Regions from separate parts of the Homo sapiens genome. Here region 1 is linked to region 2. Evidence: promoter capture Hi-C in human tissues and cell types (Jung and others, 2019). All regions are on one chromosome and are shown on one strand. Each heading gives the region's core, a stretch centred on a gene start or on the middle of the fragment in contact. The rest is flanking DNA. Distances are from core to core; before and after follow the strand shown. Region 1 overlaps MAP6 (microtubule associated protein 6). Region 2 holds the start of MAP6 (microtubule associated protein 6).

Region 1 (6,256 bases), core at 846-3,345, 41 kb before region 2:
GGCCTACAGTGTGCACCAGATGCTGCACAAACATGCCCTCAATCCCCACACAGTGCCACCAGGCAGGGACCTCCCCTCATTCTAATGAGAAAACCAAAGCCCAGAGAGGTGAGCGATTTGCTCAAGGGCACACAGCTAACAAACAGGAGGACCAGAACTCAAATTCAAGAGTGAACCATTAACTTCAGATCTGACACTTTCCTACTGTTCTACAGCAATCAGTTTCTGTACAGAAAACAAAAAACAAACAAACAAAAAGAATCCCACAACTTTTTTCTCTTACTTAAATATCAAAATAAAATTTGGTACCAATCACATGCACAAATTACAGTACCAGAAGGGAGGCACACTTCTGCCATGGTTGAAAATAGGCTTGGCCTGATTAAAAGACCTCTGTTAATTCCTCATCTGGAGGATCAAGGCCAGACTCCCCAGCCAGACCACGGGTCCAGTCCAGCACAGCCCACTTCTGTAGGCCCATTGCCTCCCACTCTCGTCCTCTGAGTAGCTTATCTACATCCCTGGTCTTTGCTTATATTGCTCTCTTTCTAGAATGCTCTCCCAGGCCCCATGCTCTTTGCTTGACCTCACACGTATCACCTCTGTGAGCCATCACTGACCCCTAAGACAGGATGAAAACTCTCACTCCAGCTTCCACACGGCATCCCAGTCTGCTGCAGTCATCTCTTGACAAGCATATATCCTCTCTGAACTGGATGCCCTAGAGGACAGGAGCGTATCTGAGCCTAGCCCAGCACAGAGCAGGCACTGAGAAAAGGCTTGCTGAGTGAATATGACTGCATAAGAATCATGGAGTAGCAGAGCTGGACAGACATCTGAACACTTTCATTTTATAGCTAAGAATTATATGAAGGCCAGTAGAGGCAAAGAAGGTGGAGCGGTAAGGAGGGACCACACACTGGAGCTCAGGCTTGACCCTGGAAGCAGCAGGAGCCACTCAAGACCTAAGAGCAGAGGAGTGACGTGATGATGTGGCCCGGGAGGTATTTTGTTTTGGTGACTCAGACCACTTTGGGGCAATAAGAGGCTGGGATAGGGAGAGACTGGAGGCTGCAGATTCAAGTATGTTTTATTTAATAATAATCTAAATTACAAACTTAGTGTCACTTCTGCTAATAAATTATTTAAGGCATTTATTGAGTGCCTGCAGCAATTATAATATCGGTACCCTTTACTGAGGGCCCACTGTGTATCAGGTGCTTTGCATTCATTACTTAATTTAAATCTCAGAGCCACCTTTTGAGTTAGGCACTATTACTTTCTGTTTTATGGATGAGGAAACTAAGCTCAGAGAGGTGAGGTTACTCATCTAGGGCCTCAGAGAGACTACGATCCAGGCCCTGGGAAGAAAAGACAAGGAGCCCACAATCTAGTGAAGGGCAGAAGAGGAAAATAAATGATTTGAGTCATTTGATATCAGAGGTGCTATAACCCATAGAAACAGAGGGAGGTGAGGAGGCCCAGAGTGGGCCCTGTAACCACTGGCAGGAGGCGATGAGTGAAATCTAATTGTGACGGGTGGCAGAAAAAAATGCATTACAAATTGAAAACAGGCCTACTGTCCTATTACTTATGTTTTCTCTTTTTGGAGCAGAGCCAAACTGTGTATAACCTAGGAAATGGCTGAAAGCAGAGAGGAAATATGCAGAGCATCCCTCTGTGAGATTCAAAAATCATCTTCATGCTTGTAATCATTCAACACAGACACTCCGCACCTGACTTCCCAACAATGGGATTAGCCCGTCTTTCTGCCCCAGGGAACTCTGTGCCATTTGGAGAGACCTAGGGGTCCTGGAAGAGAGATGCTGATGGTCCAGCAGCAGCTGGCCTCACACAGGCCTACAACTTAATTAGGTTCCTGGGAGGGCAGTGTGCAGAGATAAACCAGTTAGTAAGGGGCACCAGAGTGCTGGGTGTGGAAGTGTCAGCATCAAAGACACGCCTAAACGGCCTCTGCTCTGCACATGTGGCTGTGCTTGCACGTACGTCCATGTCTGTATGTGTCTTTGTGTGTGTGTGCTCTGGCCAAACAGTAGGAGGAGGGAGGGTTGGAAACAAAAGGACCTGAAAACAAGGGGACCGTCACAGTGAGAAACTGATTTGCTTTCAGACTAATGATGGTAATGGTGATGATCGTGAAGGTAGATGACAGAGAAGCTTCTTGGTTCCAGAAACTGTATGAGGCACACTTTTTCACTACCTCATTCAATCGTCATGGAGATCCTATGGAGTAGACACTGTTATTATCATCCTCGTTTTACAGATGAGGAAACAGGAGCTCAGGGGGTTCCGTGTCTTGACCTTGGACAGCAATAAGTAGAGATGTTAGAATTAAACAAAAATACTACAATTAGGAGCCATGTCCCAGAACTGAAATGGAACATTCAGCTGAGGCACTGAGACAATACCAAAGCAGGCACAAGGTCACAATGCAGGATCCTCAAAGGAAAGGCTGAGAATGGTGGAGGGAGAGGACGTTGGCAAGAGCTCTGTGTGCTGTGACGGGGCTACTTCTCCCTTCGACTGAAATCAAGAGAGAGGCTCAAGGACACCCGGATCTCAGGGGCTGTGCTGGAGCCATAGCTGACTCATCTGAGAGACAAGGCCCAGGAGACAGCTGGCTAGCTGGTCTTGGAGCAGAGGGAGAGAGAAATGGTTGTGTTGGGGGTGGCCTGTACTCTGTTTGCTGGAGCAAAGAATGCACGGTGCTGTTTTCCTGGAGCAGATGGGGTCAAGAGGGCCAGCTGAAGTGGCAAACAGATCCCACCAGAAAGAAGCTGGAGGGACTGCAGGATGCTGGGGGTGAGGAAGGAGTATGGGAGCAGCCAGAGAGATTCACATTTATCAAGGGACTGTGGTATGAGATTCAAAGTGATGGGTGGGGGCCTCCAAAGAACCCAGCAAAGCACCCGCAAGACAAAGATCCCAGCTTAAACACCTGCTGGGGGACATCAGTCACCATGGCCACACGGGTCCAAGCGAGAGCTTGCCTCCTCCCCGCCCTTGCTCCCCGAATACCAACCCTGGAAAGGTGAGGAGCTGGGGGAGGGGAGGACAGGGCAGTAGAAGCCCACTGTAGGCATCTCCTCTGCAGCAGGCCAGAGCGGCAGGAGGGAGAAAAACATTCACTTTAAATAGACTGACTACTTTGACTATTACATAGGACTGAACATTTAAATTACTGGAGGACTTTTATTTCCTGACATTTGCCAAGTTACAAGACTTCCCTAAATATTGTACAAGTTATGAGACCCATCCAAAATTTTGTGAAAGGGGAGGGGAAGAACTTGACCTGGAGAATAAATTTAAAGGGATAGTGGGAGGCAAAAATAAAATCACCTTGCAATTATGTCTGATGAGCTGCATTTGTTGAACGTAAAAGTTACATTTACAATGAATGAAAACTTACTGTGTGCCAGAAGCTTTAATAATAGATTTGCTTGATCTAATTTAATCTCAAATTAACCCTGCAAGATAGAAGTTACTACTCCTATTTTACATGTTGGAACACAGAGGCTCTGTGAGGTAAAGAGATCTGCCCAAAGTCACAGAGCTGGCAAGTGGCAGTGCTGGGACTCAGGCTCACAAAGACGAAAAGCCTGCGTCTTTCATTTTTTTATTTTTATTTTTTGAGACAAAGTCTTGCTCTTTACTCAGGCTGGAGTGCAGTGGTGCGATCTCGGCTCACTGCAAATTCCGCCTCCTGAGTTCAAGTGATTTTCCTGCCTTAGCCTCCGAAGTAGCTGGGATTACATGCATGTGCCACAATGCCTGGCTAATTTTTGTATTTTTAGTAGAGATGGGGTTTCACCATGTTGGTCAGGCTGGTCTCCAACTCCTGGTCTCAAGTGATCCTCCTAACTCGGCCTCCCAAAGTGCTGGGATTACAGGCATGAGCCACCACCCCCTGCCAAGCCTGGGTCTTTCTATCGTGTCTCTGCTTGGGACTTCTGCAGGTCAACTTGTGCCAATAAAAGTGGTGCTCAGGGTGGGAGCTTTTCTGGCATCCTGCATATGAAGTACATTTTTTTCCCTGAATTAATTCTGTCCTCATGCATTCAATAAAGCTTTCACTATAAAGGGCAAAAGACTTTGCTCAAAAGACTGACTTTATATTCTTATATTCTTTTATTTTGAGGTCAAAGGGATTGGAAAAAGTTTATTCCACAGCTGCTATCACTTGCTTGTTTGTCAAAGGGTTAATATAAACTGCAGTGTCATAACCAAATAATTAGATCTAGGTCTGAATGCAAGTTTGTAAACAGGGCTATAGATATACTGACAGGGATGGTGGTATTTGGAGGGAGCTGTTACTGAAGGACAGTGAGGGCATTGCCGGGAGGGGAGTGGGCTGAGGGGAATGAAGAGGAGAAGAGAAAATAAGAAGGCAGTGAGAGGAAGTCTTGTTGACAGAGGAACAAAAGTCTCGGTTCTTGTTCATCAGCTACACACTGAATTCTCATGTCTTCTAATATCCACCACAATAAGTAACTACAGCAAAGACAAGGCTAGGACCTACCTTAGAGAAGAATGCTTGATAAAACACACTACTGGATTTCAAATCTGTGTTCATATGAGTGATGCGAGTGTGTGTGCATGTGCTGCTGTAACTATCATCACCACCACCTTCACACCATTGTCTTCATCGTGGTCTTCCGAACTTTCCGACTCTACCCTCTCCCAGAAATCCACCCAGCCCAGTTAGAGAACCAGCATGGGACTCCTGGGCTTAAACTCCTCCCATCTTCACTGGTGAACTCTTGTGTCTTTGTCTGGTTTTGGTGTCAGGGTAATATTGACCTTATAGAATGAGCTATGAAGTGTTCTCTCTTTTTCTATTTTTTGGAAGAGTTTGTGAAAATTGGTATTAATTTTTCTTTGCATGTTTGGCAGGAATCACCAGCTTAATTGTTTTTGTAAACCATTGCACCTAGTTCACAGTTGATATTCATTAAAGGTTCTGCATTGAAATGAATCTGTTTCTATAATGTTGTATCTTACCTGATATAATTTAATGATGAATATTTAACTTAAAATTTTAAAAGAGGCTTCTATCTGATATATCATAGAATACTACAAAAGTCCAGACTGAAGTCCAAATTTCAGACTATTTATACCAGATCTTGAATTTTATAGGTGTGACCTACTAGTCACTCCTAAAAATAGATTCCTTCAAATTTCTCTGGGTACCAGGTAATATTCATTCAACTAAGCCCTGAACTGAGTTCCAGCTTCCTATCTGTATCTCCCTAAACTCATTACTAATTAAAGGAAGCCATAGCTACATTTTAAATACAAAATGCTTAACTTACAAAGGCTCGTTAAAAGGTAATGATTCAAGTGTTTTGTTAATAACAAGGACTTATTACCTTTTAAGAACAATTGTCCAAATGTATCATAGAATTTGTTAATAATGAAAATTCCACTGTTCTTACCCTTGTGGTGAAGCCCTGGAATCTGTATTTTAACAAGTTCCTTGGGTGATTCTAATGCAGTTGGTCAGAGGAGCATACTTTGAAAAACACCACTTTAAAGTTATCATGACTTTGTGGATAAAGGTGATGAATAAAGTAAATTGTGTCTATAATAAAGTGCCGGGCACACCACTTGGCTCAAGGTGGCATGCTGTGGGTGCCAATGTGACTGGTTTAAGAAGCATAATTCAAATTACCTTAAAGAGGGTTACAGCTGGGTAAAAACTTAATTGTTGATAGGACTGCAGGCATATCTAGGTATTTTTGGTCACTCTCCCACAGTCTCCACTCATTCTCAGCAATAACAAAGCATGGACTATGAGAAAGGGCTTATGTTTGGAATCCCAATTATGCTGTGTATCAGTTGTGTAACTTCAAGAACTACCCTCCCTAAGCCTCAGCTTCCTCATCTGTAAACAGGGATAATGTCATCTACCTTGCTGTGGTGGTGTGCAGATTTAATGAAATACAGTAGACTTTTTTTTTCTTAATTGCCCTTTGCCCTTTGCCCAACCCTCTCCCACTCCCCTCCTCCAGATGGGCTCATGTAACACAGGGCCAGCAGGAGACGGTACAAATGCACTTGCACAGCTACAGTGATGGATGGCTGTCAAGTGGCTGTCTCAGCTAAGGAAACTCAAACATGAAAAGGGAAGAAAAGGAAGCAGATTCAAAGGCTGGTGATGAGATGATCAAGTGCTTGCTTCAGAACACAAATCTCAACATGAGACCAGTGAAATTCAATTGAAGCAGAGCACACT
Region 2 (6,286 bases), core at 3,256-5,755:
CAGTCACCATGGTGTGAATACACCATAATTTATGTAGAATGGCAGAAGAAAAGGGTTTGTAAATCAAATTATCATTGAAGTGGAGCACAGCTTGGCTTCTAAGCCTTCTAAGGCAACATAAGGCCCATCTTATGTCAGTGGACATGGTACTTACTTAAATTCAGAAGATATCCTAGAAACATAGCAAGGAAAAGAATGTGAGACAATAGGGAAGGAAAATCAATGTTCTAGATAAGCTTATAATTGCCAACCATTTTTTCTTTACAGTGTATTTAATGTATTGAATAGCTTATTTCTTTATATCTACTTTCAATCAAAGTGAATTTCTCAATTATTTGTTAATTTTTATTCTGGAACAAAAAAAAAACCCGTTAAATTTCACATCAAATTTGTCATGCACTTAAATTGTTCATTGAAGAAATTGATGTTTCTTAGCAATAATCATTCCCTTAATATTTCAAAACCCTTTTGATTATATAGCAAAATAGTACTCCTGGCCCGAAAGCCATAGGTATAATTAAATTTTACAAAAGACCTAAATTTAAAAATTTTTTTGAGGTGTTCAAAGATTTTTTTGACAGGTTAATAGAATTGATAGGTGCTAAAAATAATCATTCTCACCAGCTCCGAGGGCATAGCCTTCCCCCACCAAATCCAGTCATTTCCAGTATGTGTGTAATGTGAAGCATGGCATGTGAAGCACGACATGCTTACTGCACAGCTAAGCTGTTGTTTTGAGGAAAAAGGCTATATGGAACAAGGTACAACCCCAAATCTGGAGTGCGTTATATTCAAAGGATGTGGTCATTCCTTGACTGACAGGCCACTCATCCATAAACAAAGCAAGTCCTGCCAACTTGAAATCATAAACTGAGTAGGATCACCCAAGGAGGCTTAAGAATCTGGAATCTCTCTTGATTGGCATTGACTGCATGGTGGTGAGAAGAGACAGCTCCTGCTAGTGGGTAGTAAGGTTCCACCTGCCACAGGGTGCTAGAATGAGAGTGGGAAGATGAAGAGGCCAAGCCAGTAATCTATGATGTTGGGCCAGACGTGGGCTTCTCAGGGTAGGAAGATCAAGAAATGAAGTAGGGTCTTGAAGCAAGCAAGCCATAGCAGAACTAGAAAACTACATCCTGCCTTTGTTTTTTATGTCTCCTGCTTATTTGTTTCCCCTCTTTTCTTTTGCTCCCCGCTTGGTAGCAGCATAAAAACATAGTGAACATTCTACCATCTCATGGCTATTCAAGGAAAAGGATTTATGTCCTTGTTTGACCAAGAGCTCAAAGGAAGTGCTGTACTCCTGGGTTCCCAGTGTGGTTGTTGTGATAGCAATAAACCAAGAGAGAGATGCCAAGTGGGAGGTGGAATTCAGGAAGATGAGAAATGCAGGGGTAGGAGTTGGGGGACAGATTTTCTCTTAACATGAAGGATGTCTGGATATGCTATTCTTTCCTCAGCCTATGAGAGAGTATTGGTAATGTTCACTGGAGAAGGATATTAGTCTAACCTATATACAGAGTCTTGGCAAAGGACTAACTCTCTAGTCCTCCCCGCCCCCCACACCCTCTTGCAGGAAGGAGGCAGCAGAAAGCTGTGGCATTGATAAAGGACCCCATAAGCTGCATTTTGAACACCTCTAGCTCAATTACTTTCATACAGATCTTCCCCGAGAGACCCCAAATGCAATGTTGCATGTCCAGAGTCAACTGTGTTCTGTTAGCTAATTGATGTTGGTTGAAACATAAGGGGAGAATTGAAAGCTAAGCCTTCAGAAATATATACCGGATGGATGAAGGGCAAGAAAGCAGACTGGAATGGCTGAAGCTGCAGCAGAGGGAAAATTCTAGAAGGAAAGAGAGAGAGAGATTTTCATGCTTGAAAGCATTCATTTGCAAGGAATTGAGTGTGCTGGAGAAAGGGGTTTTTGGTGGCAAGAGAATGAGAGACATCTGGAGAACATGTAGGGAAAGGAGAGAGAAAGAAGATGCCTCAATAGCAGAGAAGGCTGGAGGCACCTAGGAAGTAGGATCATAAGGTATCATGTGGAAGGTAGGAATGGAACCAAGATGTACTAATTACCACTATGTGCTAGGCACGAGCTGTTCTCCTGATTATCTCATTTAATCCTCACAATGTCCGGCACACTGCCTGGCATATAGTAGGCACTCAAAAATATGTTGAATATTTAATATTAACTAAATAAAAATAAAATGTTTAATATTAAATCAATAAAAGTGTGAACAATCCTAAGAGATGTCTATTACCAATTACATCTTACAGATAAGAACATGAGGCCCAGAAAGGTTAGGAAACTTGCCCAATATGTCACAGCTAGGGAGAGGTGGAAGGACAATGACTTCAAAGTTCCAGCGGTGGAAGGTGGGGGGTAATTTGTAAAGATCCTGTGGGTAATCTAGAAAAAGGTATGGTGCTTGGGTGTTGCCCAGAGACTGAGAAAGGGAGGAAAGAATGAAGGGCCAAGGGAACTGGGCTAGGGAGGAGGGCGAGAGGCCACTTGGAAAGAATTCTTCTTCTGGAAGAATGGGGACCCTGCAAAGGGCAACATCCAGGCTAACGCAGCAGGTGAGTTGGATGGGGGCACGACGGAAGCACAGCCTCTGCTGACATTGCAAAGGGTCTCTGTGGGAAGGCAGGGATCTGAGGTGGGAGGGATGGAGAAAAGGGCTACAGCGGTAAAGTGAAAGAGCCAGGCAGGCTGAGATGGAATATACTAACAGCTTGCGCATGGGACAGGGCAGAAGAGAAGGCTTCGACAGGAGGTGGCCTGGGAGGCGGCTGGGGAGAGGGTGTGGCCTGGGACTGGAGGGAGGCTGCACGCTAGGCCTGCGCTGGGGATCCTGGGCCCCGGGCAGCCCGCGGGGAGGGTCTGCGTGGTGACTCCCCCGCGCTAGCAGCGGCCGCGTCTCACCTGTAGGAGCTGCTCACTGCACTCGCCACCTCCTCGCGGATTTGCCGGTTGAGGGCGTCCGCCGCGGCGCGCCCCCTGCCAGCCTCGGGGCCGGTGGCCTGGACCTGGGCCTGGGCCGCGGGCAGCGGCGTCTGCTCGTGCCCCAGGCCCTCGGCGCGGCGCACAATCCAGGCAGGCCCGGCCTTCCTGCGCGTGTCGCGCTCGTCCGCCCCGGACGCCTTTCCGGCCGCCAGGCCACCCGCTCCGCCGGGGGCCGCCTCCTGCTCCCGGGCCTCAGCGGCGGCCTGCACTGGCCAGCGCTCCTGGCTCTGCGGCCGGCGCTTGGGCGCCCCGAGAATGGGCGCCGACGCCTGGGAGGCCGCAGAGATCTGCACGGGCTTGGGGATCCACGGGTGGTCCCCGCGGCGCGGCAGCGGCCAGGCGCGGAAGTCCTTCTGGTACTGGGTCTCGCGCTCGAAGGGAGCGTCGGAGGGCTGGTATTCGCTGCGCGGCCGGCAGCTGGGCTCGGGCCGCTGCACCTTCCAGGCTCGGTAATCCTGCCGCATCACCGAGTCCGCGGGGCCGGAGGTGGAGCCGGAGCCCAGGCCCGGGCCCGGCCCGCTCCGGCCGGGGCCCGCCGCCGGCTCGCGCTCGCCGGTAGGCCCAGGCGCTGGCCCCGTTGCCCGGGCAACTGCATCCAACTCGCCCTGGGCTGGCTGCGTCTCTATGGCAACCGCGCGCGCCGAGGGGGGCGCGAGCGCCGGCTGCGCCTGCTGCTGCGGCGGCGGTGGCTGCGGCGGGGCGCCCGGGTGCTCGGTGGCCTCCGAGTACTTGGTGAAAACCAGCGGCACAGCGATGTCCGCTTTGTCCAACTGGTTCCAGAAGCGGGCGATGCAGCAGGCCCTCGTGATGCACGGCCACGCCATGATGCTAGCTGAAAAGCCGGCCTCCTCTTTCTTCTTGTGGTTCTAAAGCAAGTCTCTATAATCTTCCTTCAGCCTCCGATCCTGACCGGCCAATGTGGTTCCCACCGTTTTCTACCCCCGATCAGCCGGAGCTAGTTCGCCCTCCTCCCTCAGCGAGCACCCGGGGAGAGCTGTCCTAGGAGAGTCTGTAGAGTCCCTCGATTACCGGTCGCAAACGCCTTTGGGAGCGCAGTCTGCTGCGAGCGCCGAAGGGTGAGACGCACGGCGTTCCCGAGTCCCCGGCGAGGGTGTCTGGGACGCGCCCCTCCCTGCGGCTGCGGCGGCGCACAGACCTCGGTCGAGCGAGGCGACGTGAGGAGAGGTGGCTACAGGCTTAAGCCATGGCGCAGAGGAGGGGCCGGGCGGTGTGGCCGCAGGGTCCGCGGACCGGGCTCGAGTCTCCTTCCTGCCGGCGTCCTAGTGCAGCCGGCCACCTAGCAGGGCTGGGAGGCCATCACCTCCAGCGGAGACCGAGCATTGCTGCCTCCGCCGCTGCCCGCGAGGATGCCGCAGCCGCCGCCGCCACCGCCTCTTCTCCTGGGAAGCGACCCCACCCTTTTCTGCAGCTCTCGGTCTCCGCCGCTGCCCGCGAATGATGCTGCAGCCGCTGCCGCCGCCGCCTCTGCCTCTGCTGCAGGGAAGCGGCCCCACCCTTTTATGCTGCTCAGCAGTGAGAAAAAAATCCAGGAACGATGCTGACTGAAAGAGTGCTGCAGAAAAAAACAAAACAAAACAAAAACACCTGCTGTCGTCAGCTTGCGCTGCTGGGAGCTTGCCTTCCCTCCCCACCACCCTCCGCCCTGGCAGCTCCTCCCTCCTCTACTCCCGGGCAACAGCAGAATCTGGGGACGTAGTGGGTTCAAGTCCCAAGCTCGTGAGGACTTTCTGTCCTTGTGCTTGTCGCTTCATCCCCAGGAGTCGGAGGCTCCTCTTTTGTAAAATAGGGCCAATGGGGGGGGGGGGTGCTATTAAATTTTAAAACATGGAGGAAACTCCTAGTGAAATGTCTGTCCCAGAATAGATGCTTTGAAAAGGGGAGCTGCTGGAATTGGTCAAAACCGGCGGGCTGTGTTTGAGCCCAGTTTGGTTGCCTCCTGGTTCAAGCACTTGCCAGTCTTACGCACAGGCCTTGCTCAGATGTGTCGGAATGGGAGCACCAGGGCTGGTGGTGCCCTGGATGTTCCTTTCCTAGGGAATCTTTGCGAAGGTATGTTTTAGACTCCCCCAAGAACCGCCCAGTCCCTGTTCAGTTCAGGTGCCACACTGGGGCAGAGGTAGAGAAAAGAAAATTCTGGAAAGTGGCTTAATTGTGGAGGTTGGGAGTAGGTAGGACCTGTGCCCTAGGAAACGGCAGTGCCTGGCCTGCAGGGGCCTTCTGGCACGTTCTCACTCCTCGCCGTTGCTCTTCTTCTATCTTCAAAGCAGAAGAGATTTTGAAGTCCGAAAGACCTGGTTTGGCTCTGCTACTCTCTGTGCCACTTGGGCAAGTTGAGTCATCCCTGTGTTTCAGTCTCCTCATCTGTAGAATGGAGGAAATACTACCTGCCTCAAAAATGGTTTTGTGGGCCGGGCGTCGTGGCTCACACTTGTAATCCCAGCACTTTGGTAAGCTGAGGCCGGTGGATCACCTGAGGTTGGGAGTTCAAGACCACCCTGGCCAACATGGTGAAACCCTGTCTCTACTAAAAATACAAAAATTAGCTGGGCATGATGGTGCGTGCCTGTAATCCCAGCTACTCAGGAGGCTGAGGCAGGAGAATCGCTTGAACCTAGGAGGTGGAGGTTGCAGTGAGCCGAGATAGTGCCATTGCACTCCAGCCTGGGTGACAAGAGCAAAACTCCATCTCAAAAAGAAAAAAAAAGTGGTTTTGTGAGGATAGCGAAGGACCCAGGGCAGAAGCTTTGAGTCAAATCTAATCTGCAGAGATTCAAATCCTGGCTTTTGTAGCTCTTAACTGTATGGCAGTGGGCAAATCACTGCAATCTTCTGACCTTCAGTTTCATCTATGAATGGGGGTACCAATACTGAACTTGCAAGGTTGTTCTGAGAATTAAAATGAGATAATGCACTAAAAATGCTTACCACAACATCTGGCATATGGCAATGGCTCAATAAATGGTAGCTATTAGTATCCAAAAGGCCCACCCAGAAGACCCATAAGTGGAGTGTCCTAAGAAGCCACTTGGACACCTTCTCCAGGAGACCTCTTGTTCCTCCAAGTAACTTTTGTTCTGTCTTTGCTATCTCTCCATTTATGTCTCCTGCACTCCTCCACTAGCTACATCCACTGGACTTCAGCTCTTTTCCCCTCCAATATAGGCAGAGTTTTCAGTATCAGTTAAGCTGGGAGCATTGGTGTTTCAGGGAGAGAAAGTCATGTATGTGTTTAGATTATAAATGGGTTGCACA

The links. The method cuts DNA at HindIII sites, captures the fragments that hold promoters and counts their contacts. A contact is called where the count stands out against the background at its distance.
Region 1: a fragment that was not itself captured here is called in contact with the fragment with the promoter of MAP6 in region 2 in 1 of the 25 tissues and cell types used here (pancreas).

What each region holds. Positions count from the first base shown.
Region 1 is chr11:75,625,455-75,631,710 of GRCh38, forward strand. The region is part of intron 1 of MAP6 (microtubule associated protein 6); the gene reads right to left. Among named protein-coding and RNA genes, the nearest start is that of MAP6, 40 kb to the right of the region's middle. The HindIII fragment of the contact is 3,340 bases long and covers 426-3,765 here.
Region 2 is chr11:75,664,533-75,670,818 of GRCh38, forward strand. MAP6 (microtubule associated protein 6) reads right to left here and starts at 4,506. Exons shown (of 4, transcript NM_033063.2): 1 at 2,933-4,506. The coding sequence starts at 3,837. The HindIII fragment of the contact is 8,929 bases long and covers 1-6,286 here.